Linked DNA regions of Homo sapiens: region 1 is linked to region 2. The links are contacts of gene promoters, found by promoter capture Hi-C in human tissues and cell types (Jung and others, 2019). All regions are on one chromosome and are shown on one strand. Each heading gives the region's core, a stretch centred on a gene start or on the middle of the fragment in contact. The rest is flanking DNA. Distances are from core to core; before and after follow the strand shown. Region 1 has its middle 32 kb from the start of CEP72-DT. Region 2 holds the start of SLC9A3 (solute carrier family 9 member A3).

Region 1 (5,268 bases), core at 1,238-3,737, 55 kb after region 2:
AGTCCTTTAGCTAGACACAAGGCTGACAGGTGTGTTTTTACAGAGTGCTGATTGGTGCATTTACAACCCTTTAGCTAGATACAGAGTGCTGATTGGTGCATTTTTATAGAGTGCTGATTGGTGCACTTACAGTCCTTTAGCTAGACACAGAGCACTGATTTGGTGTTTGTTTACAATCCTCTAGCTAGACAGAAAAGTTCTCCAAGTCCCTACTCGACCCAGGAAGTCCAGCTGCTTCTCCTCTCAAGATGAGCTAAAAATAAGTTTAGAGGGGAGATAATAGCTGTAAGTGCTCACATTAGAAAAAAGATTTTCAAAGAAACGATCTAAGATTCCACTTTAAGAAGTTTTAAAAAGGTGAGCAAATTAAATCCAAAATAAGAGGGGACTAGAAGGAAAAAAATTATAAAGATGAGATACTAATGAATTATAAAACAAATAGAGAAGTCAATAAAGACAAAAGTTGTTTTTTGAAAAGGTTAATAAAACTGATAAAACTCTGACAAGACTGATCAAAGGAAAACTGCAATAATCAATTATCAATGCCAGGAGAAAAGAGATGACATCATTACAGACCCTACAGATGTTAACAGGAAATATCATAACATAACAAATGATTTTCTGCTGATAAATTTGAGAGCTTATGTAATAAATTTTTCTGAAAATAAAACTTACCAAAATTGACACAAAGTGGAATAGAAAACTTGAATATTCCCATATCTATTCAATAAATGAACTTGTTATTGAAAACTTTTCCAGAAAGACAACTCCAGAGCTAGATGATTTCAATGATGAATTTTATCAAATAGTCGATGAAACAACATAATGCAAATATTTAATAAAACATTTCAAAACTTGGGAGAAGGAAACAGAAGAGAACCATTCCTAGCTTTTTTATGAGGCCAGCTTAACTCTGATGTCAAAACCTGGCAAAGACATTATAAGATATGAAAATTACAGATCAGCATCCCTCATAAAGATAGATCCAAAAAACTGTAAACAAATTACTAGCAAACTGAACCCACAAACTTATAAAAAAAGATAATACATCATGACAAAGTAGGGTTTTTCCAGGAATGCAAGATGAGTTTGGTGTCTGAAAACCAAACCAATGTAACTCACCATATTGATGGAATAAAGGAGTAACCATATGAAACATCAATAGGAGCAGAAAGAGCTTCTAACGAAATTCAAAATCCATGTAAGATAGAAGCTCTTGGAAATCTAAGGCATCATGTAAAACCTACACCCACATCATACACAATGGTAAGATGCCAGGCACTTCTCCCCTAAGACCAGGGAGAAGGCAAGGAAGTGTACTCCATCTCCACAACACCTCTTACCCCAGGTTGTAGCCGGACAACAAAGGAAGGGAGAAAAAAGAAGAAAGATTGGTGGGGAGAAAGTAAAATTATCTCTAATCACAGATGATGCAATTATTTACAAGGAAAATTTTAAGGAGTCTTCAGAACTACTGGAACGAATGTGAGATTCACAGGGTCTCAGAACATAAGATCAGTAAACAAAAATCAGTTCTGTATCTATATACTAGCAGCAAATAATCTGAAAATAAAAATTTAAATTATTCAGTTTATAATACCATCAAAACCATAAAATACTTATGACTGAATTTAGCAAACGACATTATCTATAAAATGTCGCTGAAAGAAATTAAAGAGCTGAATAAATGGAGAGACAGCCTTCACGGATAAAAACATTCATTACGGTTATGATGTCAAGTTCTGCCCAGATTCAATTACATTTTCCACGCAATCCCAAATCCGATCCCAGCAGGTCTGAGATGAAGCTGGGGTGAGGGTGAGCAGAGAAGGGCTGAGTCCAGGATGGGGAGTGTCAGGGGACCTTGATTTTTAAAAACCAGTCCTTTGAGAAGAACAGCTCATGGTGCCAGGCAGCGTTGTAGCTCATCACGGCTCAGCCTGGCACATCAGGACTGTGGCCACCACCCTCACATAAGGACGCCGAGGCACCGAGAGGTCATGTGACCTGGCCAGAGCCGCACAGCCAGATGGAGGCTGAGCTATGCGGGGATGCCACAGTGTGCTGACTCCACACACACAAACGCCACCACTTACATTTTTATTTCCCCGTCACTGTCTTGTTTCTCAAAGGACTTGAGGCTCATAGCAGCACAGGTTCCTTAAGGAGGCTCATAGCAGTATAGGTAGGCAGCTGTGTTGAGCTCTCAGGGTGGAGAAAGCCTGGCTGATCTCCACCTGTGGCCTCTCTGTAAAGATCCAGGGTCCTCGGGGTGGCTGTGGCAGCATCTGAGACAGCCCTGGTGTGGGCTGCCTCAGATGCTGGCCTTGGCTCGGGGGTGATCCTGGCCTTGGCTCGGGGTGTGGTTCTGGGTGCTCCCTCCACAGCCCTCTTCTTGATGTGGCTTCAACCTGCCCCGTCCGGGTTTGGCCCCAGCTTCCCGTGAGCTCCAGGGTAATCCCTGTGCCGGCTATGATAGGGACATCTGACCTAGTGGCCTCCAAGTCCTCCCCTGCCCCAGGACTCCTCACTCAGTTCCGGGGAGCGCCGTGCGCCCTGTGCCTCCAGGCTGAGCAGAGTCGTTTGCTTGTAGGTGGCCTCGACCCTGTCTGGAGCTCCCTAACAGCAGCGGGGCCACAGCCCGGTTGTTCCCTCACACCCAAGGCAGAGCTGGGTACACAGCAGGTGCTCAAAGGTGGCTTCACTTTGCAAATAAGAATCTTCAGCAAAGCCCCAGGATCCCAGCAGGGGCCCGCCAGGGGTCCACCACATGAGAGCCCAGGTGTTAACTCAGTGTGTGAGCATCCTTTTAACATAATCCTTAAGTTGGTGGCAGAATTTCCTTCCCCAATAAGCTCTGCCGTGTTTTGAATTTCATCCTGCCTCCCAGTGTGTGTTTTAAAGATCTCTTTACATTTGCTCTGCCCGGGTAGGGTATTCATGTGATGCCAAGCCCAAGGCGTTTCCTTCTTTGCTCTTAATTCTTAAATTCTGCTGGTATTTAATATTTTCAACTTCCAAACCTTCACACGGGTATCTTTACTAATGTAGATCAGATTCATTTGTGTTCCTGGTTGCTACAGAATTAGAAAAACAGGAAGAGAATGAACAAAGTAACGCATCTCCGTGGCAGGTTCGGCAACCCTCAGTGTTCAAGTTTCAGCTGTGCACGGCAGGGCCTGTCTGTGGGATGTAGACATGAGCCGCCCAAGTCACAGCAGAAGGCGAGAGGATTCCGGACCTTTGCGGCCACAGCGAGGACATGGGTGGGAGGGGAAGCATGGGATTTGAGGAGGGTGAACACACACACACCATTAGTAGTTGTAAGTTTTCAGCACGTTTACATCCAAAGTCACTTTGTAAATTAGTAACTTTGTTATTGGAGGTAAATTTTCAAGCTGCTGGTTGGACCTGGCGTTTTGTTGTTGAAGCTCTAGATGGAGGCACAAGCAGCCGGAACTCAGGGACGAAACCCTCTGCCATTTTCAGTTGGTGAGGAAAACGAGCCACAGACAAAGGGAAATGCTGCTTGGTGCAAAAGGAAAACAAAATGAATACAGAGATGCGCGCATACCTGTTTCTGAAAGGAGGAATGAACAGCAAAACCTTGGCAGGGCCAACCTGGCCAGAGGCTGGGCAGGTGCTGCCGGTTTCTCTTCATGCCTCTCCAGGTTGAATCTCCTGGTCTCACCCACCTACCCTTGATTACTTTCTAAAGATATAAGCAGAAGTTTTATAAAGAGTGAGGTGCTGGTCTACTTTCTTTTCTCTTTGTACTTCTCTGAGTAAAGGACACTGAGTCAGCATCCCCACAAATGCTGAATGTATGTATATTGAGCCAGCATCCCCACAAAGGCTGAATGCACACTGAGCCAGCATCCCCACAAAGGCTGAATGCACACTGAGCCAGCATCCCCACAAAGGTTGAATGCATGCCAAGCCAGTATCCCCACAAACACTCAATGCACACCAAGCCAGCATCCCCATACACACTGAATCCATGTCGAGCCAGCACCGCCACAAACGCTGAATGCAACACACACCTCGGCTGGATGTTTGAAGCAGCCAGGAGTCTGCATTTCTGAGACGATGGGAAAAAGTGGATGTGGCCTGGGGATTGGCTGATGCGAGGGAATTGTGCTTGTTTGGGGCCTACTGTATTGGGCTCCATAGGAAACAGGCCTTATTCCTTAGAGACATCTGCTCTGCTGAGTTCCCCAGGGGTCTAATGGCGTGATGTCTATAAGCCAACGCGAGTCCCTCCACCAAGATAATAGGTGAAGTAAACACGGCCAAATGTGAGTGTGTTAGAAGGTGGTGAGGGGCGGCTGACTCTCTCTGCCTCCGTGTACGTTAGGAGTGTTCCATAATTAAAACTTTCTGATCAGGTGCAGTGGCTCATGCCTGTAATCCCAGCACTTCGGGAGGCAGAGGTGGGTGGATCATCTGAGGTCAGGAGTTCAAGACCAGCCTGACCAACATGGTGAAACCCCATCCCTACTAAAAATACAAAAATTAGCTAGTCTTGGTGGCGGGCACCTGTAATCCTAGCTACTTGGGAGGCGGAGGTGGGAGAATCACTTGAACCCGGGAAGCAGAGATTGCAGTGAGCTGAAATGGTGCCACTGCACTCCAGCCTGGGCAACACAGACTCCATCTCAAAACAAAACAACACAACTTTCTTTTGCCCTCTGCCCAGCAGATGCAGCCAGGCCCTGGCAGAGAGGCTGTCTCCCTCTGTCCCCTGGTTCCCTTGTGTTCAGAATTGGTTCCTTCCACCGGGTTCTTGGTCTCGCTGACTTCAAGAATGAAGCCGCGGACCCTTGCAGTAAGTGTTACAGTTCTTAAAGATGGTGTCCGGAGTTTGTTCCTTCAGAGGTTTAGACGTGTCTGGAGTTTTTTTTTCTTTCCGGTGGGTTAGCAGTCTCACTGACTTCAGGAGCGAAGCCACAGACCTTCACAGTGAGTGTTACATCTCTTAAAGGTGATGCTCATTCTTCCTGGTGGATTCGTGGTCTCGTTGGCTTCAGGAGTGAAGCTGCAGACCTTCACGGTGAGTGATACAGCTCATAAAGGTAGTGCAGACTCAAACAGTGAGCACCAGCAAGATTTATTGCAAAGAGCAAAAGAACAATGCTGCCCAGGTACAGACTCGTACCAGCACAGGTTGCCACTGACTAGGCTGGTGGCCAGCTTTTATTCCCTTATTTGGACCCACCCACATCCTACTGATTGGTCCATTTTACAGAGTGCTGATTGGTCCATTTT
Region 2 (5,321 bases), core at 1,166-3,665:
AGGGAGCGTAAAGGGCAGGTCTGGAGAGGGTCTGCGCCTGTGGGATACCGCGATGAGCTCCCACAGCTGCACAGGGTAAGGCTCGCCTTCCCAGGTGGAGCCAACAATCCGAGACAAAGACAGCCGCTGAGTGCTATCAGGGTGGGCCTTTGTAAAGGACCGCCCTGCCCCGGGGAGTTGCTGCTGGAGCCGGCAGCCTCCCCGCCCTCAAGGACGTCTTCCCAGAACCAGTCCAAGTGTTTGGGAGACCTGAAGGCTTTTCCCTGTGAATAACAAACTCTGAGGCCAGGCAAAGCCCTGGTCAGTGTGCCTTATCTGCCGGCTCCCAGGCGGGGCTGGCTGGTGCCTGGCGGCTGTCATTGGACCTTCAGATGCCAGATTCTGACTCTGTACACTGGGCTAAACTGGGAGAGGCCCCAGCTTGTACAGAAATTAGATATTCACGGCCGGGCGCGGTGGCTCACGCCTGTCATCCCAGCACTTTGGGAGGCCGAGGCGGGTGGATCACCTGAGGTCTGGAGTTCAAGACCAGCCTGACCAACATGGAGAAACCCTGTCTGTACTAAAAATACAAATTAGCTGGGCGTGGTGGCTCATGCCTGTAATCCCAGCTACTCGGGAGGCTGAGGCAGGATGTGGAGGTTGCAGTGAGCCGAGATCGCGTCATTGCACTCCAGCCTGGGCAACAAGAGCAAAATTCTATCTCAAAAAAAAAAAAAAAAGAAAAAAAAAGAAATTACCTTTTCAGTTTACACCAGGGGGGCACTCCCGTCAGAGGAAAGCAGGGTGAGCTTTAGGACTGGGCGGCCGCAGAGCCCAGGTTGAGTCTGGACCTCCCTGATGCCCCAGGGGCCCTTCTCAAGGAAATCAACTGTAGGAGGCAGCCAGCCTCAGAGACTCCCCCCCGGCCAGCATCCCAAGCCCCCAGTGGAAAGCCCAGGGAGGACAGCCTGAGCCTGGAGAGCAGGCAGCCCGGCGGGGAGCTGAAAGACACCAGGGCGAGGAGGAGGCTGCGGAGAAGGGAGGAGGCGGGAGGGCTCAGAAGAGCCCTTATGAGACAGAAAGCAAACACACAAGGGGCCTGAAGGGGAGGGGAGACCCTGGCATAAATAGGGCAGGCGGCAGGCGTCACTGAAGGAAAAGGCGCCTTCTCCAATCAAGCCTGCTGGGCGTACCAGGTTCCACCAAGGCCAAGGTCCTCTCAGCTGTTCTCCCCGGAGCCTGTCCCTCCCCTGTCCTGCGTGGGCGCCCCTCCTCGGCCCCAGCATCGAAACCTCCTCTCGCCCCAGTCCAAAGCTGCTCTGGAAACCTGCCGCGGCGCCTGCTGCTCTGATCTTGCTTCTCCTGGCCCCACTCGGGCCCCCTAATCCCCCCTCCACACGAGTGACCACCTCCCTGCCACCCCTGGAGAGACCCTACCCTGTGGACCAACACATGAAACTTTGATCCCCACGAGCTCCTCAGGAAGCTGACCTTCCTGTCACCTTGCCAGGAGCTACCTGCCGTGCCCACATTACTGGTTCATTGGCGCCGGTTAAGAAGAAGAGAAATCTGACCGACCGGGATTTTCTAAAAAAAAAAAAAAAAAAGGAGGCCCGCCAATGGGAACGCTGCGCCTGTAGGGAGGATTCTGCTGGGTTTCATGCGGGTAGCACCGCTTTTCTTTTCTGCCCTTGTAACTCACGAAAAAACGCCATCACTCCAAGGACGTTTCTCTAAAAAGCCTGAGAACCCCGAAGGAAACCCGGCCCCGGGGACTCCCTGGGCGCGAGCAGCCTGCAGTCTGCGGGGCTCGGAGCGGAGGCGGGGCGGAGACCCCACAGGGACCCGGGAGCCGGGAGTCCGGGGCTCCGAGGCTGTGCCCCCGCCGGGGAGGGGAGACCTCGGGACCCGCAGGGGCGGCTTAGCGCGGCCAGAGTCGCTCCCGAGTCTCGCTCTGCTGGACCCGAGAGCCGGACTCTCCCGGGCGGCCGCCGCGCGGCTCCGACCTGATGCGCGCGGCCACAACGAAGCCCCCAGGCCCAGCAGAGGCGGCCGCACACCCCGCGGGCAGATCCGGAGACCCCGGGGCCACTTACCGATCTTGGCCAAGCTGGCCACGAGGATCCAGAGCGCGATGACGTAGGGATCCTGCACGTGGGCCCACTCGAAGGTGACCACCTGGAAGCCCCCGCTCTCGCCGTGCGCGCCGCCGGGCTCCACCTCGACGCCCCCGGCCCGCGCCAGCCCGCCCAGCGCCAGCGCCAGCAGCAGCCCCCGGTCGGGGCCCCGGGCCCCGAGTCCCCACATTGCCGCCTGCTCAGCGCAGGGCTGGGACGCGCATGTCGCGGGGGGTCCCGGCTGGGCTGGGCCGACGCGCGGGGCTGGGACCCGGCGAGGACCCGGCGCGCTCCGGTGCCGGTACCGGCTACAGTCCGATCCCCGCCCGCCGGGGTGGCCTTTAATCCCGCGGCCCCCTCCCGCCCCGGGGCGGAGCCTGCCCGCCCCCGCCGCGCACTCGCGAGCGCAGACACCGCCGCAGCTCCCGGCACGCCCGCCCCGCCCGCGCACGCCCACCCCGCGCTCCCTGGTGCCCACCCTCCCCCGGAGCCCGCGGCCTGGAGGTCCGGGAGGTCGCGGCAAGAGCGAGCCCGGGACTGCGCGGCCGCCTTCCTGGGGCGTGGGGAGCACAGCGCGGGGCAGCGGGACAGGCGGTTCCGCGCAGCTCCTGGGATGCCCGGGCAGCTGTGGGTGCGCTCGCCCCAACCCTCCTTCATAAACGCAGGGCCTGGGGCTGCGCAGACCCCACAGGGCGGCCCAAGGGTGCACAGGGGCCCCAGGTGTGTCTTCACACAGCCCCTCGCTATTGTCTTCAGCAGGAACCTGCATTCCACAGCCGGACCGGCCACTTACCAGAACTCGGGGGCGCCCAGGCCTTGCGTGGTGCGCTGGTAAGTCTCTCTGCCCCTCCCATCGCCAGCCAGCATCCCCCACCCCAGGCTCTGAGATGGGAGCCCAGGGGCCCCCGTGGTCTCCCCTGCCCCATCCCCTGCCTTTAGACCTCCGCCCAAAACAATTCGATACCCCCAGGGCTTCACACGGATGCGGGGCCTCTGCCCACAGCCCGCTCCGGCAGCACTGGCTCTCTTAAGCATCTCAGGCTCCACTGTGCAAACCACACCCCTGTTTTCCTCCAAGCCCACCCTGCAGCCTTCCAGCCCCAGACCTGGGACGCAGGTGGACTTCTTTCGCTCACAAGGTTTCCAAGCTCTTAGCATATCTGCTCTACTTTCAAAATGTGCACAAAACCAGCGGCTTCTGGGAGCCTGCAGCCACCTGCAAAGGCTCCTGCTCGGCCCTCTACCTGCCCCTTCAGTCCCTCCTATTGGGACCCTCCCTCTCAGAGGAAAGGCTCAACGTCTCCCGGGAGCTCAGACCCCAGCCACTGCCTGACCCCCACCCCCATGCACTCCACGGCCCACACCAGCAATCGGCGCCTCTCGGGGCCTTTGCACGCCCTGCTCCCTCTGTTTGGACGGCTCTTGTGTGCTCCCTTCCTCAGCTCCCCAGGGGCTTGGCTCCAATGCCACCTTCTGGTCCCACCCGATACCCACTCAGCTCACAACTGTGGCAGCTAAGCTCCCGCCTCCCCTGCTTACTCGGTTGGCTCCGGGAATCAGCTCACCTCCCAGCCCTGGGGGCTGCTGGCTTTGACCTTGAGCTGTCTGCCCTCACCCTGGGAATGTCTGCTCCACGAGCAAGGGGCTCATGCATACATCCCAGGAGCTTGGAAGATAGCTGGGCACACAATAGCACTCGCAAGATAGTGGCTGAGCGGATGGATGATAGATGGATGGAAGGACAGATAGGTGGACAAAGGGCAGGTGGGCGGTGGGGTGGGTGCAGATGGAGGATGGATGTGTCTTCTGACATCTGAGTGGGGGCTGCGGAGGCCTGAGGAGGACAGTGCTGAGTTCAATGACTTCACCCTGCAAGGGCCCCAGTTTCATGCTAATGGAAGTGGCCCGTGTAGCACAGGGAAGGTGCATTCAGATGGTGCTCGCCTGGTGACTCGGCTGCTGAGTGGCGTGGAGGGAGGGCAGCCCTGGCCTGGGCCACTGCAGGGTCTGGACAGGGCACCGGGGGAGTGGAAGTGTGTGACTGGCCACTAGTATGGTCTTGCGAGGTGGGAGCATCGGAGTCGCTCTTGGCCTGTGTCCCTGCCCCACCTGTCTCTGTCCCCCACTCCACTCCCAGCCTCTTGTCCCAGAGAAAAAGCCAGCAGGACAAGAACAGGATTCCCTCCAGTCCGGAGCTTCCCTGCTCTTTCCTTATGGTTCCTGGGTGGAGCCGTTAGGAACGACGTCCTCTCTGAAGATGTTGCCCTTGCATTCCACAGGAAGGCCAAATTTCCACCAGACCAGTGTGTTCCATGATGCCCACTGGACCTCCGGCCACCCCACCCCCCAACCAGCCTGTCCTAAGAGCCGACAACCTTTCTCCACAAAGCTGTTCAAAGGGCAGAAGAGCAGTGTCACTGCCTGGAAGGACAAATCCAGAACAGACACCAGTGCCAGGCGCTGGCCATCAGGTAGTGTGCTGCCCACACCTCCACTGCCCCCCACAGCAGGAAGGGCTGCCTCATGGAGAATAGAAAGGCAATGAGCCCCTGAAGTGGCGTGGCCAGAACAAGGCACACCCCACTGCCCACGAGTCCTGCCAGGGCACACCCCACTGCCCACGAGTCCCTGCACAGGTGAGAAGTGTGGCTGTTTGGCAGCATCTCAATCTGTGAGCATTTGGAGGATGAAATGCGTCTGCACTCCAAGGTTGCTGGAGGGCTCGGGGCAGACGGGCGCTGCCCCAGCCTGTGATGGGCATGGCCTTGAGGATGCCAGCCTCATGCAGAAGCCAGTCTAGGGGATTATACAGGGTGTGCACACCCACTCCCCTACCCTCGGACTGGAGCCACAAAACCCTCCCTCTAACTGGGTCGTGGTTTTAGGCAGGGCCGTGGCACCCCACCACTGCAGGGGCCACCATCCATATCAGGCAGACTGTATGAACCGTGCCCCTTGGAATTGTACAGTGCACAACCTGCACATCCTCATGGCCAAAAAGACCCAGAGACTTGTGTGTGTGTGTGAGGGGGTCTTGGGAAGTATCCTGAGAACATTCCTGTCCTGTGGGTGGTGACGATCTGATAACTGCCCGACCACTTCCTGCCTCAGGCAGGCACGCATAGCATTCTGGATCCTTCCACCGTGGCCTGGACCCCTTGTGGTCCAGGGACCCCCTGCACGTATGGGGAAGGGGCGTGGCTGTAAAACATTCAAAAATGT

What was found. The method cuts DNA at HindIII sites, captures the fragments that hold promoters and counts their contacts. A contact is called where the count stands out against the background at its distance.
Region 1: a fragment that was not itself captured here is called in contact with the fragment with the promoter of SLC9A3 in region 2 in 2 of the 25 tissues and cell types used here (lymphoblastoid cells and thymus).

The regions. Positions count from the first base shown.
Region 1 is chr5:577,430-582,697 of GRCh38, forward strand. No RefSeq gene overlaps it. Among named protein-coding and RNA genes, the nearest start is that of CEP72-DT, 32 kb to the right of the region's middle. The HindIII fragment of the contact is 6,374 bases long and covers 1-5,268 here.
Region 2 is chr5:522,034-527,354 of GRCh38, forward strand. SLC9A3 (solute carrier family 9 member A3) reads right to left here and starts at 2,416. Exons shown (of 17, transcript NM_004174.4): 1 at 2,079-2,416. The coding sequence starts at 2,289. LOC107986395 (a long non-coding RNA gene) reads left to right here and starts at 2,625. Exons shown (of 2, transcript XR_001742543.1): 1 at 2,625-2,930; 2 at 4,379-5,321. RefSeq lists an enhancer at 3,983-4,615. The HindIII fragment of the contact is 12,710 bases long and covers 1-5,321 here.